Linked DNA regions of Homo sapiens: region 2 is linked to region 1. The links are contacts of gene promoters, found by promoter capture Hi-C in blood cells and fetal thymus (Javierre and others, 2016). All regions are on one chromosome and are shown on one strand. Each heading gives the region's core, a stretch centred on a gene start or on the middle of the fragment in contact. The rest is flanking DNA. Distances are from core to core; before and after follow the strand shown.

Region 1 (7,532 bases), core at 5,033-7,532:
AGGATCGAGACATTATTAGCCTCAGGATATAGATGAAGAAACTGAGGCTTAGAGGTTCAGTAAGCTGCCACGGCCATAAAGCAGGTGGCAAAGCCAAGATTCACCCAGGGCTCTCTGACCCTGGAGGCAGATCACTAACCAGAGGGCTACATGCCCCTCGGCATGCGGGGTGCCGAGCGCTGCAGCGGGAGATGGGGCCTTCGCACATCAGGGGCTGCCACCCGCCAGAGGCTACACGTATCACTCACTACACACCCTCCTCCCTCAACCCAAAGGTTAGTAACATTTTCCCACTTGGCAAAAGAGAAAACAGAGGCCCATGGAGGCTCAGGAACTTGCTTAACAGACTTCCAATTCTCTGCGCAAATGAAGGCAACAAGCATGGATTGGAAAATCCCCACCGGCGGAAAACAGATTAGGAGCAACCACTGATTTCCTTCTGTATCACGTGCTGGTCCTGGGAACTCAGAGGCCAGGCCTGAGCAAGAGGTCTGGTGGGGCGACTGCTGCGGTGGCAAGCCAGCCTCGTGCAGAGAAGTGAGGGAAGGAGAAACCAAGAGATGGGGAGCCACAGCCATCGTAGGGAAGGTGGCCCACCCTGCACCGCCTTCCCCCACTCCTCCATGCCAGGACACAGGGAGACAGGAATGAGGCCCCGGGCCTGGCATCCTGGGAGGAGGTGCCCTGTCTCTGTGGCAGAGGTCACCGCTCCCCTGGAACTCTCTGGGCAGCAGGCACAGGGCCATGGGCTCAGAATTCTGACACAGGAGACCCAAGACGCATCCCAGGCCCCCCAATCAGCCCCACAGGACCTAGAGCAAGTCACCGCACCACCACTCCAAGCCCTGATTTCCCCATCTAAGATATGGAGATGCTAAGGTCTCCCTCCTGGGACCATTTGGAAGCTCTGAACAGAATGGAATTGGGACTGGGATGCTGTTTGTGGCAAACTGTGAAGCACTGGGCACAGTTTACCCACCCCTGGGTCACCTGCCTGGGAGCCTCTCAAGGCCAGCCCTCCTTTCTGAGGCCCAGCATCCCAAGGCCATTGATGGATCCCTTGGGACAGGCTGGGGAAGGAGGGGGAAAGGCTTATCTAACCCACCCCATTGTCTTCACTGACCTTTGTTCCTGAGCTTGGCTGGGTTTAGGAAAAGCAGCCTTATTAGCCGAGCTGCTGCACAGAAAAGACCTATTCAGAGTTAGCGTGCTCTGTCTTTTTCTAAAGGCCCAGACCACCCCGTTCCATCCTCCCTCTTAAACCAACAAAAACACAAGCAGGAGAACAAACCTGTCTCATTTTGAGAAGCTCAAAATTTTAATCCGAACTTTAAAAAGTAAATGGGGCTCATGCACAGGCTTGCTAGAATCCTAGTTCCTCCAGGTTGGCTAAAGGGGAGTGGACCGTGGAGGAGCAGGTTATCAGGGGAGGGAAGGAAATGCCTGGCAATGGGCAGGAGGGGGGCATGGTGCCTGTCGTGGGGCACAGGAGACAGGCGGAGGGGCAGCTGGAAAAAGAACTGAAAATTCTTTTGTTTGAAAATCCTATCAGTTCATGAAGGAGAACCTGACTTTCTGGTGTTGGGGTTTACCTGTCTCAGTGTGCCACACTGGACTAGAGCAACGCACAGCCCAGTCCCAAGTCCAGTCAGCCCAGACCAGACCTCTACCAAAGGCAGCCAAGGCCAGGTGCAGTGGCTCACGTCTGTAATCCCAACACTTTGGGAGGCCAAGGCAGGAGGACTGCTTGAACCCAGGTGTTCGAGACCAGCCTGGGCAACATAGTGAGATCCAGTCTCTACAAAAAATTCAAAAATTATCTGGGCATGGTAGCACACATCCCAGGAGGCCGAGGCAAGAGGATTACTTGAGCCCAGGAGGTTGAGGTTGCCGCGAGCCATGATGGTGCCATTGCACTCTAGCCTGGGTGACCAGAGAGACCCTGTCTCTAAATAAATAATAAATAAATAAATAAGCAGCCAAGGAGAAAAGCCTATTTGCATGTACATACACAATACACAGGCCCACCAGGCCAGCCTCAGCCAGGGCTGCCTTGCATACAGATGGGCCACCTCCCACCTCAGCCACTAGAGTCTGCCCAGGGCACCCAGCAGGGCTGCAACTGCCACCAGCTCCCCAGAAAGGACAGCAGGGCCACTGTCCTCACTAGCTCATCAGCAAGTGCTGCCACACAAGAGGCTCAGATGCAAACATTCAGGTGAGCTGTCTAAGCAGCAAGCACTTTTGAAGAGGAAACTGAGGTCTGTTGGGAGAGCCCCAAGGACCCTAACAACAGGAGAAACCTACTGTGTGTAGATCCTGACCTCACTCAACCTTGTGTGAATAATGGGGCACTCTGGGTTCTGTCCATCTTACAGAAGAGGAGCACAGAGAGGCTTGGCCAGTTAATAACTTGCCCAGTATACATGGAGGAGCTGAGATTCAAACTCAAGTCACCCTGAGCCTCTGGGTAACGGGGTTATCAGCCATCTGCTCAATGGTCACTGATAAGGAAGTGACACTTCCCAGCATGGGAGAAAGAGGGCAAACCTGGGTCAGGAATCAAGAATAGGGAGTCACCAGTGTCCCCTGATTAACAGTAACAGCAAACATGACAACAGACCAAGGGCACAACAGATTCAGACCCAAGGCCTGAACACGAGATGATCATGGCAGCAAACCCACCCAGGACAGGTACTTCCAATGTCAGCCACCTTCCCAGACAAGGCTAGGAACCCCTCTAAGCCTCCACTTGCTTGTCTGTCAAATGGGGATAATACTGCTTCCCCAGGGTTCCTGTGAGAAGAAGCAAAGACCAAACACATAAGGCGCAAGCCTGGTGTCTGACCCCACTTTAGACACCACCCAGACAGAGACTCATTATCTCCCTCAGCTCAGGCCCAATCTTTGCTCAATTTAAAGTTACAAGTCCCAGAATAGAAAAGCCCAGTTTCACCAGGTGAGGTGGCTCATGGCTCTAATCACAGCTACTTGGGAGGCTGAGCTGGGAGGATCACTTAAGCCTGGGAGGTTGAGGCTGTAGTGAGCCATGAGTGTTCCATTGCACTCTAGCCTGGGTGACAGAGTGACACCCTGTCTCGAAAAAAGGGAAAAAAGAAAGAAAGAACAGCTCAGTTTCTAAGAGAAGGGCCTTTCCTGGTTTCCAAGCCTTCCATTTACATTAGTGGGACCACATCCCAAGGCCACACATGGCTTTAAGAGACAAAACTAAATAATAATAATTCCATCTGTAACCGAAATTTGTAATAATAATGCTGAATTTTCATTTCACCCCAAAGCAAGGTTTGCTGCCACAACATTTGCAGCAGTCCTGTGCTAAGTGGGCTTGGGGGAGGATGGGTTCTGTGGGAAACCCTATACTTCAACCTCCCACTGACCCCCAGTGGGGTGGAAAACTCAGTGTAGCCTAGTCCTCCACTCCTGTATTATTCACTGTCGCAGCTGACATGCTGAGCCAGACTGGGGCCGCATCTCCTTGCCCAAAACTCGACAGAGCCTTTCCTGCAAGTATGCTCTAAACACTCCAGCCCTCCAGTGTCCTGCAGAGAGGCACTCTTGCCAAGTGTCATTGATGACGCAGCTGAAAACCAGAAACATTTCACTTTCCAGCCACGAGACTGCAGCAATCTGCTCTTTGGACTGCACTTAGGGAAACCGAGGCCCAGATAACTGACCCCTCAAAAGCCCCCAGGACGGCAAAATCAAAGGGGCTGAGGTGCTCTGAACAGCCCCAGCAAATTAAACCACCTAACTTTGCGCTACTCCCACTGCCCTGAAGCAGCCTGTGGTGGGAGGTGGGGGTGGATACAGTGTTACAAAGAGAAACCTGAGTTGTAGCCATAGATTGCTAATCAGTAACAAAATATCCCTCTAAACCCAGTCCTGCCTTGAACCCACAGGCTCAGGATGGTAAATAAAGGAAAAACATGCTGCACTGCCCCTGCCCCACCTCCATGGGTATGTCTCCCACCCCAGCCCCCACCCCAACACGTCTGCAGAGGCCACTTGGCCACCAAACTAAGGAGAAAACGTCCCTCCCCAGCTCAGGCTGAGGGGTTCTGGGGAGGGCAGTTATTGCAGGCTTAGACACACTTTCTCTGAATTAGGAAAGGCTTTAAAGGGAACCAGAAAGAGCTGTTCATTCTCCACCTTCAGGCAAAAAGTTCAGGCAGTTGCAACTACCAGCAGAACTGGAAGCCAAGCTACCAAAAAACGTGGAAGAACAGGGAGGCCCCGGATCCACCAGCGAGGAGGAGAAAGCTGGCAGGGAGCAGAAGGGCTGAGCAGGGGGCTGGGAGAGGGAGCAGGCTGCAAGCTCCCACAGCCCCAAGCTGGGGCCACCCTCTGCACTGGGCGCAGCAGTAACATGGGCGTAGAAGACAGAAGCTGACAGAGGCCAAAGTTCCTCCCACCCACACCCTGGTCACGGATGACCACGGCACTTCCTGTAAGGCGATCAACAGTTTATAAATCCCTTCAGAAGGTTTATCTCCACCTCAAACCCACGAGGCAGAGGTCATCATCTCCATTTCACAGACAAAGAAACTGAGGCACACAGAGGAGAAAAGCTAGAATCCGTTCCAAATACATCTCCCTCGGGAAAGTCTTAGAGTCTCGGCTGAGAAAGGTCCCAGGACTAGAAGGGCGGAATTTATGGCAAACAAGAAAGGCTCTGAGCCCCAGGCCTCTCCCCAACTGCCTCTGGGTCTCAAGCGGCTGCCTGTGCACCTTCCCAATCCCCACACCCCACTGCAGAACTCCAGCCACCGCACACACGTGGACGCTGCTTGGTTTGGAGGACACCTGTTGCTGCAAGAGGGGAAATTCACTTGCGCTCAAGGGGCCTTGTATCCTTTGCTGTTTAGAACTTCCCGCTACTAGGCAAGGATTTCCAAGGCTGGGATGAGGCGCCCACCGCCAGCCCAGCAGTGACAGACCCTAATTTTGGCAACTACACCCGCTAGAAACTTTTCTGGGACCGGACCGGCAGCAGGTTCTGAGCTGGACAAAAAGACGCTCCACCACTGAACCGGCCCACCACCGCCCAAAGCCCCACTTTGGGTGAGTGCGGGATCCCCTGGCCCAGGATCCATGACAGCTGGAGGAGTCTGGAGTGGCGGCCGCATGAGTGGGACAGCCAGGGACCACCTCCTCTCGCCGCAGCCTGGGAAAAGGGCTGCAGCCAGGGAGACCCGCGCTGCCCGGCCCGTGTAGTCCTTACCGTGCAGGCCGTTGGGGATGCTGCGGTGGTGCGGCGGCGCCGACAAGTCGTCCAGGGACCGACGTGTGGCTCCTGCCTTGCCGTCGGGGGCCTTGTGCGGCCCGGGGGGCAGCAGCGGGGGTGGGACGTGGTGGTGGTGGTCGGGGCTGCCGCCGCTGCCCGCGCTGGACGTACTGCTGCCGTCGCCCACGTCGCGGGCCCCCGCGCCGGGCGCGCCACCCGACAGCGGCCCGCTCAGGCTGGCCTGGCTGTCGATGGAGCTGCGGGAGCCGGCGCCGCCCCCGCCGCCGCCGCCACCGCTTGCGGCCCCCGTCGCCGCCAGTGCCGCGCGCTCCTCGTCCAGCAGCAGCACCAGCTCCTTGAGCTCCAGGTTCTCGCGCAGCAGGGCCTCCTGGCGCGCCTCGAGCTCGCGCAGCTTCTGCTGCGAGCGGGCCACCTCGTGCCACACGGCGCCGGCCGCGTGGCGCCCGAAGCGCTGCCACTCGCGCGCCAGCTTGCGCCCCTTCTGCCGGTCGTCGTCGAGGAAGCAGCAGAGCTCGCGCAGCTCCTGGTTGTCGTCCTGCAGCCGCTGGTTCACGTCCTTGAGGCCGCGGATCTCCAGCAGGTGCTGCTGCAGCCGCCGGTTCACGTCGCGCATCAGGCCGCCGTGCTCCAGCATGAGGCCCACCTTCTCGCCCTCGGCGCGCCGCAGCCGCCGCGCCAGCTCCTCCTTGCTCCAGCGCAGCAGCTCCTCGTCCGGCACCTGGCTCAGCTCCTCCGACGCCGCCGCCGCCGTCGCCGCGGGCTTAGCCATGGCGGGGCCGTCACCGCGGCATCGCCCTCGCCCTCGCCCGGCCGGCGCTTCCCCGCGCCGGGGCTCCGCTGGGCCGGTCCGCGCGCGGGCGGGGGGCGGCCGGGGGCGCGTGCGGCCCGCCCCGCGCCGCCTGGCGCGTCCTCTCGCCGCGCCCGCCGGGGCCGCCCGGGAGCCCGCGCGCCTCGGGGTTGACGAGCGGAGGCGGCTGCTGCGTCGGCGGCCGCGGTGCCGGGCGCTCTCAGGGTTCTGGAGAAGCAGGCGGAGGCCCGCCCCCGGCCCAGCTCCCGGAGCCCCCGCCGCCCCGCCCACCCCGGGCGGAGAGTGGGCGGGTCTCCGAGGCCCGGCCCCGCCCCCGAGGGCGACTGGGGAGCAGAGGCGCGGCCCCCGCCGTCCCCCTGCGCGGTGCGCCCGCCCGTCCAGTGCCCTCTCAGAGGCGCGTTCCGGCCGCGGTCCCGCCCTCCCGGCCGGGCGATTGGGCCGCTCCGGGGGTGTGCGGGAGGGGCGGGGCGCGCGCGGGGGAAGCTGCGGCGGTGGTACGGTCCATCCGCGGGGTTTCCGACCCCCGCCCGCGGCCGGCTCCCGGCGGTTCAAGTTTCTGCGCCCGGAGGACGCGGCCTTAGCCAATCCCAGGGCTACAGGGCGCTTTTAAAATGCAGGTACGGCTGCGGGGAGGGGGACGGTGGGAAAGGTAGGGCCGGGCTTCCCTTAAAGGCGACGCGCGAAAATAGCAGTCGAGCCCCCTCCCCGGCCCGCGTCCCCGGTCCTCTTCCCTCTCCCCAGATAAACAAATACCCACGATCCGGGCGACGGCGCCCCTTCTCCCTCCCGGGGGCACCAGAGTTCAGGGCAGTCGGAGACACAGCGAACAATAGGACTGTGACATGGGGGTCGCTCTTCCCCGCAGCAGGGCGGCTCTTTGTCCCCTTCCCTGCCCCCAGGCTCCTCCGCCCCCGTCCCCACCCGGGTCCCCTGCCGGAGCACGCGGCGGGGCTGCGTCTCCACTCCTAGCCCAGGGCTGAGCTAAACGCTGGCGTCCGCGCCCCTGCAGGGCCAGGGCCTTGCCAGCCGCGTCCCGCAGCGCGGTCAGTACTCTCTGCCCCGATGGGGCGAGAGCTCCGGGAACCTGCCCCCTGCCCGGAGCGGCGCTCGGAGCCCCGCTCCACCTCCGCTCACTCGACCGCTAAATCCCTGGGATTCGGGAGATAATCTGCAATTCGCGGGGTGGAAACCACTGGGAAGGGTGGGAAGGTCTCCCACTGGGGCCTGAACGCCGGGGTCCGGGGGCGCCGAGCCGGCCACAGAACTCCCCACCGGCGGCCTCGCGGGACCCCCGGGCTTCCCACTGCCTGTAAGTCTGTCTCGTTATCCTCCGGTCCCCAAAGCGCATTTACGGCGCGTCTACCGCCAGCAGGCGGGGCGGGGCGGGGCGGGGGGGGGTCCCTCCCCCGGAACCTGCAACGAGATCAAATCCGCGCACGCGACAGTGAGCGGCCCACG
Region 2 (7,532 bases), core at 2,424-4,923, 3.2 Mb before region 1:
GAGACTCTGTCTCAAAAAAAAAAAAAAAAAAAAAAAGAAAGGAGGATACTCAGTTTGGGACTTTCTGAAGCAGAGGTGATATGAAAATTATACATCTCCTCATTTCTTTGGAGACTAAGTTGCTGGATCTTCATCTTTATTGGATAATATCAAATCATTTTCCAAAGTGTTGTGCCAGTTTACACTCCCACTCAGTGTCTAAATGTTCTGTGTTCTGCATCCTCAATAATACTTGATTTAGAAAATTTTTTATGCATAGACTCAAAAAGGAAAATGTCTTACTGATCTGCAAGATGTTAAATGTTACCTCATTTTAATTATTTCTATAATTTCTAACTGTGAGTGTATTTTCATGTGTTTAATAATCATTTCTGTTCTTCCATTAAAAAAAAAAAAGAATTACAGGAAACAGTTTTCTGAGCTAAAGCAGGACTAGGGATAATTCCCATTCTTATCACACAGAATAGAAACCCTCGTAATTCATAGGGCATTGGGTAGAGTACTCAGAAAGGTTTTGCCTCTGTAATGGGACAGAATTAACTAGAGATTAAACGCAGATCTTGTCTAAAAGCAAGACCCAGAAAGATCAAGCTGTTTCCAGATAACTACCTCCCAGGACAATGCTCAACAATATTTATTACTTTTTAAATTTTTTCTCACCATGCGTCTAACCAAATGAATTCAATAATATTTAAAATAATATAAAAACATTCAGCACCACATTCACAATGTCTGGCATCCAGTCAGAAAAGACCAGGCATGCAGAGCAGCAGAATATAACCTACAATTGAGAAGAAAAATCTGTCCGTTGAGAGTAACCCAGAAATAATACTTGAAATTAGTAGGCAGGACATTATAACACTTATTATGGCTGTATTTTATATGTTCAAAAAGCTAGAAAAAAGATTGAGCAAATTAAGCAAAGACATGGAAAATATGTTTAAAAGATTAAAAGACACAAATAGAATAGATACTGAAGAAAAGACTAACAAACTTGAAGACATATCAATAAACAATTCAAAATGAAACAGTGAAAAAAATAAATACAGCAATGAGGAACAGGACACCTTCACTTGGACTAATATACATAAAATTAGAGTCCCCAAAGAGGATAGGGACACATAAATGTTTGAAGAAATAATGGCCAGAAATTTTCCAAATTTGTTGAAAACTCTAAACCTACAGATTCCAGAATCTCAATGAAACCTAAGGAAAAGAAGCATGAAAAAACTACACCAAGAGGAACAAAGATAACAATCACATCAAATGTTTCATGGGAAACAAGACAAGCAAGGTGTGATAGTCGAGAAACATCTTTTTAATTTTTTTATTTTAGAGACACAGGCTCTTACTATTTTGCCCAGGCTGGTCATGAACTGAGCTCAAGCAGTTCTTCCACCTTAGACTCCCAAATAGCCGGGACTGCAGGTGTATGCTACTGCATCCAAGAAACATATTTAAAGACTTGAAAGAAAAAAAAACTGCCAACCTAGGATTCTCTACCCAGCAAAAACATCTTTCACAAATGAAGATGAAAAGGAGACTAGTTCAGACATAGGAAAGTTGAAAGGATTCATCAACAGCAGACCTACACTACAGGAAATGTTGAAAGAAGTTATTCAGGCAGAAGGAAAATGATACAGATAATACATGTAGATATAGATCAGTACAAATGAAGGAGCACAAAAAATGGTAATTATATATTACATATAAAAAGACTTATCTAATCTCTCTGAAAAATAATTGACTCTTTAAAGCAAGAATAATAACATTATGATGAAGTTTATAATTTATGTAGAAGTAAAATATGTGACAAAAATAGCAAATGCTATATAGTAGTGTTTTGTAAAGTTCATATACATGAAGTAGTATAGTATTAATTGGAGGTACATTGTGATAAAGATGTATACTATAAGCTTTAAAGCAACCACCAAAAACACAACAAAAAATATCGTTAATAAGAACCAAAAGATATAAAATAGAATCCTAAAAAGTGGTTAATTCAAAAGCAAGGAGGAAAATAAGGAAAAGGGAGTAAAGTACAGATGGGACTAAAAGCAAAGAAATAGCAAGACAGCAAATTCACACTCAACTATATCAATAATTACAGTAATCAAATGTAAGTGGTCTGAACACCCTTAGTCCATTTTCAGTTGCTTATAACAGAATACCTGAAACTCGAAAATTTATAAAGAAAAGAAATTTATTTCTTTTTCTCTCTTTTTTTTTTTTTTTGAGACAGCGTCTCACTCTGTTGCCCCGGCTAGAGTACAGTGGCGCAATCTCGGCTCACTGCAACCTCCGCCTCCCAGGTTCAAGCGATTCTCCTGCCTCAGCCTCCCGAGTAGCTGGGACTACAGGCATGCACCACCACGCCTGGCTAATTTTTGTATTTATAGTAGAGATGGGGTTTCACCATATTGGCCAGGCTGGTCTCGAACTCCTGACCTCGTGATCCACCCACCTCATTCTCCCAAAGTGCTGGGATAACAGGCGTGAGCCACCACGCCCGGCTTGAAATTTATTTCTTATAGTAATGGAGGCTGAGAAGTCCAAGGTAGAGGGGTCACATTTGGAGAGGGCCTTCTTGGCGGTGGGGACTCTGCAGAGTCCTGAGGTGGCACAGGGTATCACATGGTGAGGGGGCTGAATGTGCTGGCTCACATCTTTCCCCCTCTTCTTACAGAGCCACCAGTTCCACTTGCATGATAACCCATTAAACTATTAATCCATAAATGGATTAATCCACTCTTTGGGTAGAGCACTCATGACCCAGTCACCTCTTAAGGCTTCACTTTTTGGTGCTGCCACGTTGCATTGGAAATTGAATTTCAACATGAGTTTTGGAGGGGACAAGTATTCATACTAATAGCACACCCCAATTAAAAGAGGTTGCCAGATGGATGAAAAAGCAGGACCACACTACATACTGCCAGTAAGAAACCCATATTAAATAAAAAGATATTTGTATTTCCATTCCGAAGACCTTAAAACAGCCTATTATATCAAAATCAAATTCCTCTCTCTAGGTGTCAGCATGCTGTCAGATTGGGCCATCCCTGCATATCCTTGTATTTTAGCCCGACTAGTTCCTGCCACACCCTGTGCTGACCTTTGCTTATGCTTTGTTCCCTACACAGAATTTTTCACAACTCTCAAGACCTTTTTGCTTATTTATAACTCTTTATTCATGCTCATTCCAAACCAATTTTGACTGACCTGTACCCTTAGTCAAGCCCCATCATAACTAACCATTACGTCATAGATTATAGAATGTCAAAGCTCTTAGAACAGTAAAGAATTTTCTGCCTATTTACCTTATTTTGTAGATGAGACCTCCGTAAGACCAATGAGATTATGTGCCCAACTCAGGTTCATACAAGTTTAGTGATAAGAGTTTGTAGTAGGACGAAGACATATCATTGTTTTCTGTAATTATCTGCCACTCACAATTAAGTACATTTGGGGAGAATAATTATGATGTGTGTGTATGGCATTAATATTTGTGCAAATATTTCATGTGCCTGTTTTCTTTCCCAAAGTAGACTGCAAGCTACCAGTAGATATCTTTTATTAGTATTCTAGTGCTTAAAAAAAAGTCGGCTATGTAGGTACCGAGTGGATTATGATATTTGATTAATAAACTTAGAATCCAAGTAGACAAGATTATAAAACATAGGATAATGATTCATTAGTTTTTACTATTTGAAACAATGATGATTGATTCCTTTACATACAGTAATTAAGATTCAATTATATCTCAAGTTCCAAATTTTGCTACTCATATATAAAGTTTGATTCAGTGCCTTTACATCTGCTGAGATTTTTCAACCTTAGTATAAACTCTGCTTATTATATTATCTGCAAGTTTTCACAGAGGTCTAGACCTGTGCCATCTGATACAGTGGCCACTAGCTATTTAAATTTAAATGAACCAAAATTAAATAAATTTTTAATTCAATTTCTCCATCACAGTAGCCAAACTTCAGATGGCTATTAGCTGCTGTATTGGAGGGCAACAATAAAGAACATTTCCGTCATCACAGAAAGTTCCATTCATTTAGAATTTCTTATATGATGATAAATTGTTTTGTGTACAAAAAGGGAAAGCAAAGATTTTTACAGGATTCACATTGATGAGTCAACCATTCTGGTAACCTGATGGCAGTTCTAAAGTGTTGATAGTAATTCTAGTGGTTGTTCCTTCGCTGAAATGGGCGTGTATTTTCTCATCCTCAATGGTACAGGCTTCTAGTCAGGTACACAGATAATCCATTGAGCAGAAAATATATCTATATTCCATCTTTACCTTCTGTTTAAATGTATATTTATATGTCTTAAATATTTTAATTGTGGTAGAATATTTATATAAGTGCTTATAATAAGGTGTCTGCTCAAAATATTTTTACCTTCTGGGGTACATAATCCAAAGTGTGGAAGCTGCTTCTCAAGTGTCGGTCAACATAGCAACCTAGCTGCTCACTGCTCTGCCTCTGTAACTCCTGTCATCACCAGCTAACTGACTTCATGGTTTTTGGCTCTTTTCAAACTCCTTGAGAGAGCATCTGATTAGCTAGACCACCATCCGGAAGTAGTTGGACAAAGCTCTTGACTTGGGACATAAATAAACCCCTTGCCAACCTTGAGATGGTGCCTTTAATTGGAATACCCATCCCCAGTACATGTTGCTATGATGATGCTGGAATTAAAATACAAAGCATGAAACCTATGATTCAGAAACCTTTCCAGAGAAGGCAATGGGCTTGGCAAGTACTCTAGGCTTCCTTTTAAGAGAAGCATGTAAACTGCTTAGCACCTTATGTTGCCCATCAAATGTGTTCACTGAAAATAAATTATGGCCAAGCGCAGTGGCTCACACCTGTAATCCCAGCATTGTGGGAGACCAAGGCAGGAGGATTGCTGGATCCCAGGAGTTCAAGACTAGCCTGGGTAAACATAGGAAGACCCTGTCTCTCCAAAAAATAGAATCACCCGGACCTGATGGCACCCACCTGCAGTCCCAACTACTTGGGAGGTTGAGGTGGGAGGATCATTTGAGCCTGAGATTGTGCCACTGCACTATGGCCTAGGTGACAGCAAGATCCTGCCTCATAAATAAATAACTCTCCAAAAAAAAAGGAAGAGCAGAAAAAGAAGTCATTTGAATGTTTTTATTATGTTAAAGATTGAGGAAGGTACCATAAGCTAAGGAATTCAGATGGCCTCTAGAAGTGAGAAAAGGTAAGGAAACAGATTCCTTCCTGAAGCCTCTAGAAGGAATACAGACCTGCTGACATCTTGCTTTTAGACTTCTCATCTCCAGAACTGTAAGAGAATAAGTGTGTGCTATTTGAAGCCACTAATTTGGTAATTTATTATAGTAGCAATAGGACACTAATTGATATCCAAAGATTTTGGATATTTATCTATAAAGCTTTTATTAAGCACTTTCTACATGGCAGGCACAAAAATATTCATCATGATCACCCGAGCTCCATTTTCTAAACCTTTTTACCTTCATAGGGCTGTTATAGAGCTAAATCAATCACTGCCTTTCATTATGGGTAGACTCCTAAATCCAATAGAATGCTTTCTGTTGCCCGTAAGATAATAGGAATTTGTTGGCTCCGATAACTGAAAAGTGCAAATCCTGGGAAACCAGCATGGGCTCTGGCCACATTTCTCTGTGAATCTCTTGGCTCTGTTTTTTTCTGTTGTCAGCATCATGCTTGGGCTAGTGGCCCCATCTCAACATGGCTACTTGGAACAGCTTGAGCTGTGTGCTGTGACTGAACTAATCTGATTAAAGTGACCAAGAAGTCCGGGCGCAGTGGTTCATGCCTGTAATCCCAGCACTTTGGGAGGCTGAGGCGGGTGGATTGCTTGAGGTCGGGAGTTCAAGACAAGCCTGGCCAACATGGTGAAACCTTGTCTTGACTAAAAATACAAAAATTAGCCGGGTCTGTAATCCCAGCTACTCGGGAGGCTGAGGCGGGAGAATCACTTGAAGCCGGGAGGCAGAGGTTGCAGTGAGCCGAGATCATGTCACTGCACTCCAGCCTGGGCAACAGAGCGAGACTCTGTCTCAAAAAAGTAAAGTGACCAGGAAGAATTTCATGTATTAATTAGTTTGAAGAGTCTGTATCTGGGGATTGGAGTCAATCTCAGCCAAATTGCTTGGTTACTTTACTTAGTACGGGAAGGGAGCATTATGGTTGCCCTTGGAAAATATGGGTGGTCATAGGCAGGGAAAAGGATATTGGTAAATAATCAAGAACCTGCTTCAACCAACAAAAAACAAGTTGTAATCATACCTTAAAATAATAGCTAAAAATGTTATTTATGTAATGCTCCATTACTTTAATTTATATGTATCATCAAAAGTTCTAAATTGTATGTTATTCAAAGACATTTCAGGGAAAGTGTCTTAAAAGTTCAGTCTTAGGAAAGGTGTCTTCCTCTTTTTTGCAGCTCGGTGCTGATTATCACAACTGTTTGGTGACCTACTTCACTGACCTGTGAGGATTCCTTCCCTTCAGGTACTGGATTCTTGATCTTTCTGCATCATCAAGGTCCTAATTGCAATGAATTACACTCTTGCTTAAAAAAAAGCTTTATAAATGTAAAACTTTCTCATATAAACATCTTTTTATGTAATGATCATTATTTCTGACATCTCCAATTGAAGTACTTGATAACTTAAGCAAAATTAAGATGTTTGATATTCATGATGTCAAGAGATTTATAGTAGTCATTTCTAAATCTTCAAAACTATGTAAAAAAGAAAGGGCTCATTTTGTATGTATAAGACCAAATATAATCTTGAGCAGTATACTGATTATTTTTGGAATAAGGTAAAATTTGGAAAGCCAAATTTTTTTTCCTATATAATAAGTCAATTTGAGCTTTCAGTTACCCAACAGATTGCTCCAGCAATAATTGGTAATTTTATAATTAACTTCTGTTGTTTGTAGCGAGTGACTAATTCTGTAAAGTGCTGTGAGAGACGAGATAAAGAGTCTTTAAAACATTATTAATTGAAATAGGATTGGAGGAATACATTATACATTTGCTATGTAAGTTTTTGAAATAGCTTTACATATGTTATTATAAATTGCATTCAGCAAGTAGTTCTGACTTTTGTAATGTGCAAATGACATTCAGCTGTAGGAACTCCAGCTTCTTAAGATTTTTGCTGATAATTTAGAGCAGTGGCTGCACAGCAAAATCACTCAGGAGCTCTGAAAAAAATAACTCGTCTTCCAGAGATTTTGATTTTGTTTTTCTGCAGTGAGGAAAATGTATCTGTAATTTTATAAGCTCTTACAGGTAATTCTAATGACTAGCTTAAAGGATTTTGAATGTCACTATCTTGAAGGATTTTGAATATTACACAAATAGGGCATAACTTGGAAATAGCAATGGACTGTGCAGTGTACCAGATCGGTGTCCATATTGTCAGAAAAAAATTGAGACTCCTTCTAAAAATGCATTTAAGAGCCAGGTGTGGTGGCTTGAGCCTGTAGTCTCAA

Evidence for each region. The method cuts DNA at HindIII sites, captures the fragments that hold promoters and counts their contacts. A CHiCAGO score of 5 or more calls a contact.
Region 2: a fragment that was not itself captured here is called in contact with the fragment with the promoter of CCDC85C in region 1 in 1 of 17 cell types (naive CD8 T cells); the score reaches 6.8 in naive CD8 T cells.

The regions. Positions count from the first base shown.
Region 1 is chr14:99,597,925-99,605,456 of GRCh38, forward strand. CCDC85C (coiled-coil domain containing 85C) reads right to left here and starts at 6,283. Exons shown (of 6, transcript NM_001144995.2): 1 at 5,243-6,283. The coding sequence starts at 6,035. It also overlaps a transcript of HHIPL1 not described here. RefSeq lists enhancers at 64-946, 4,478-5,131, 5,838-5,957 and silencers at 294-494, 6,218-6,747, 6,888-7,027, 7,088-7,157, 7,338-7,487. The HindIII fragment of the contact is 18,022 bases long and covers 1-7,532 here.
Region 2 is chr14:96,373,217-96,380,748 of GRCh38, forward strand. GSKIP (GSK3B interacting protein) reads left to right here. Exons shown (of 4, transcript NM_016472.5): 2 at 6,472-6,572. Among named protein-coding and RNA genes, the nearest start is that of GSKIP, 13 kb to the left of the region's middle. The HindIII fragment of the contact is 3,518 bases long and covers 1,915-5,432 here.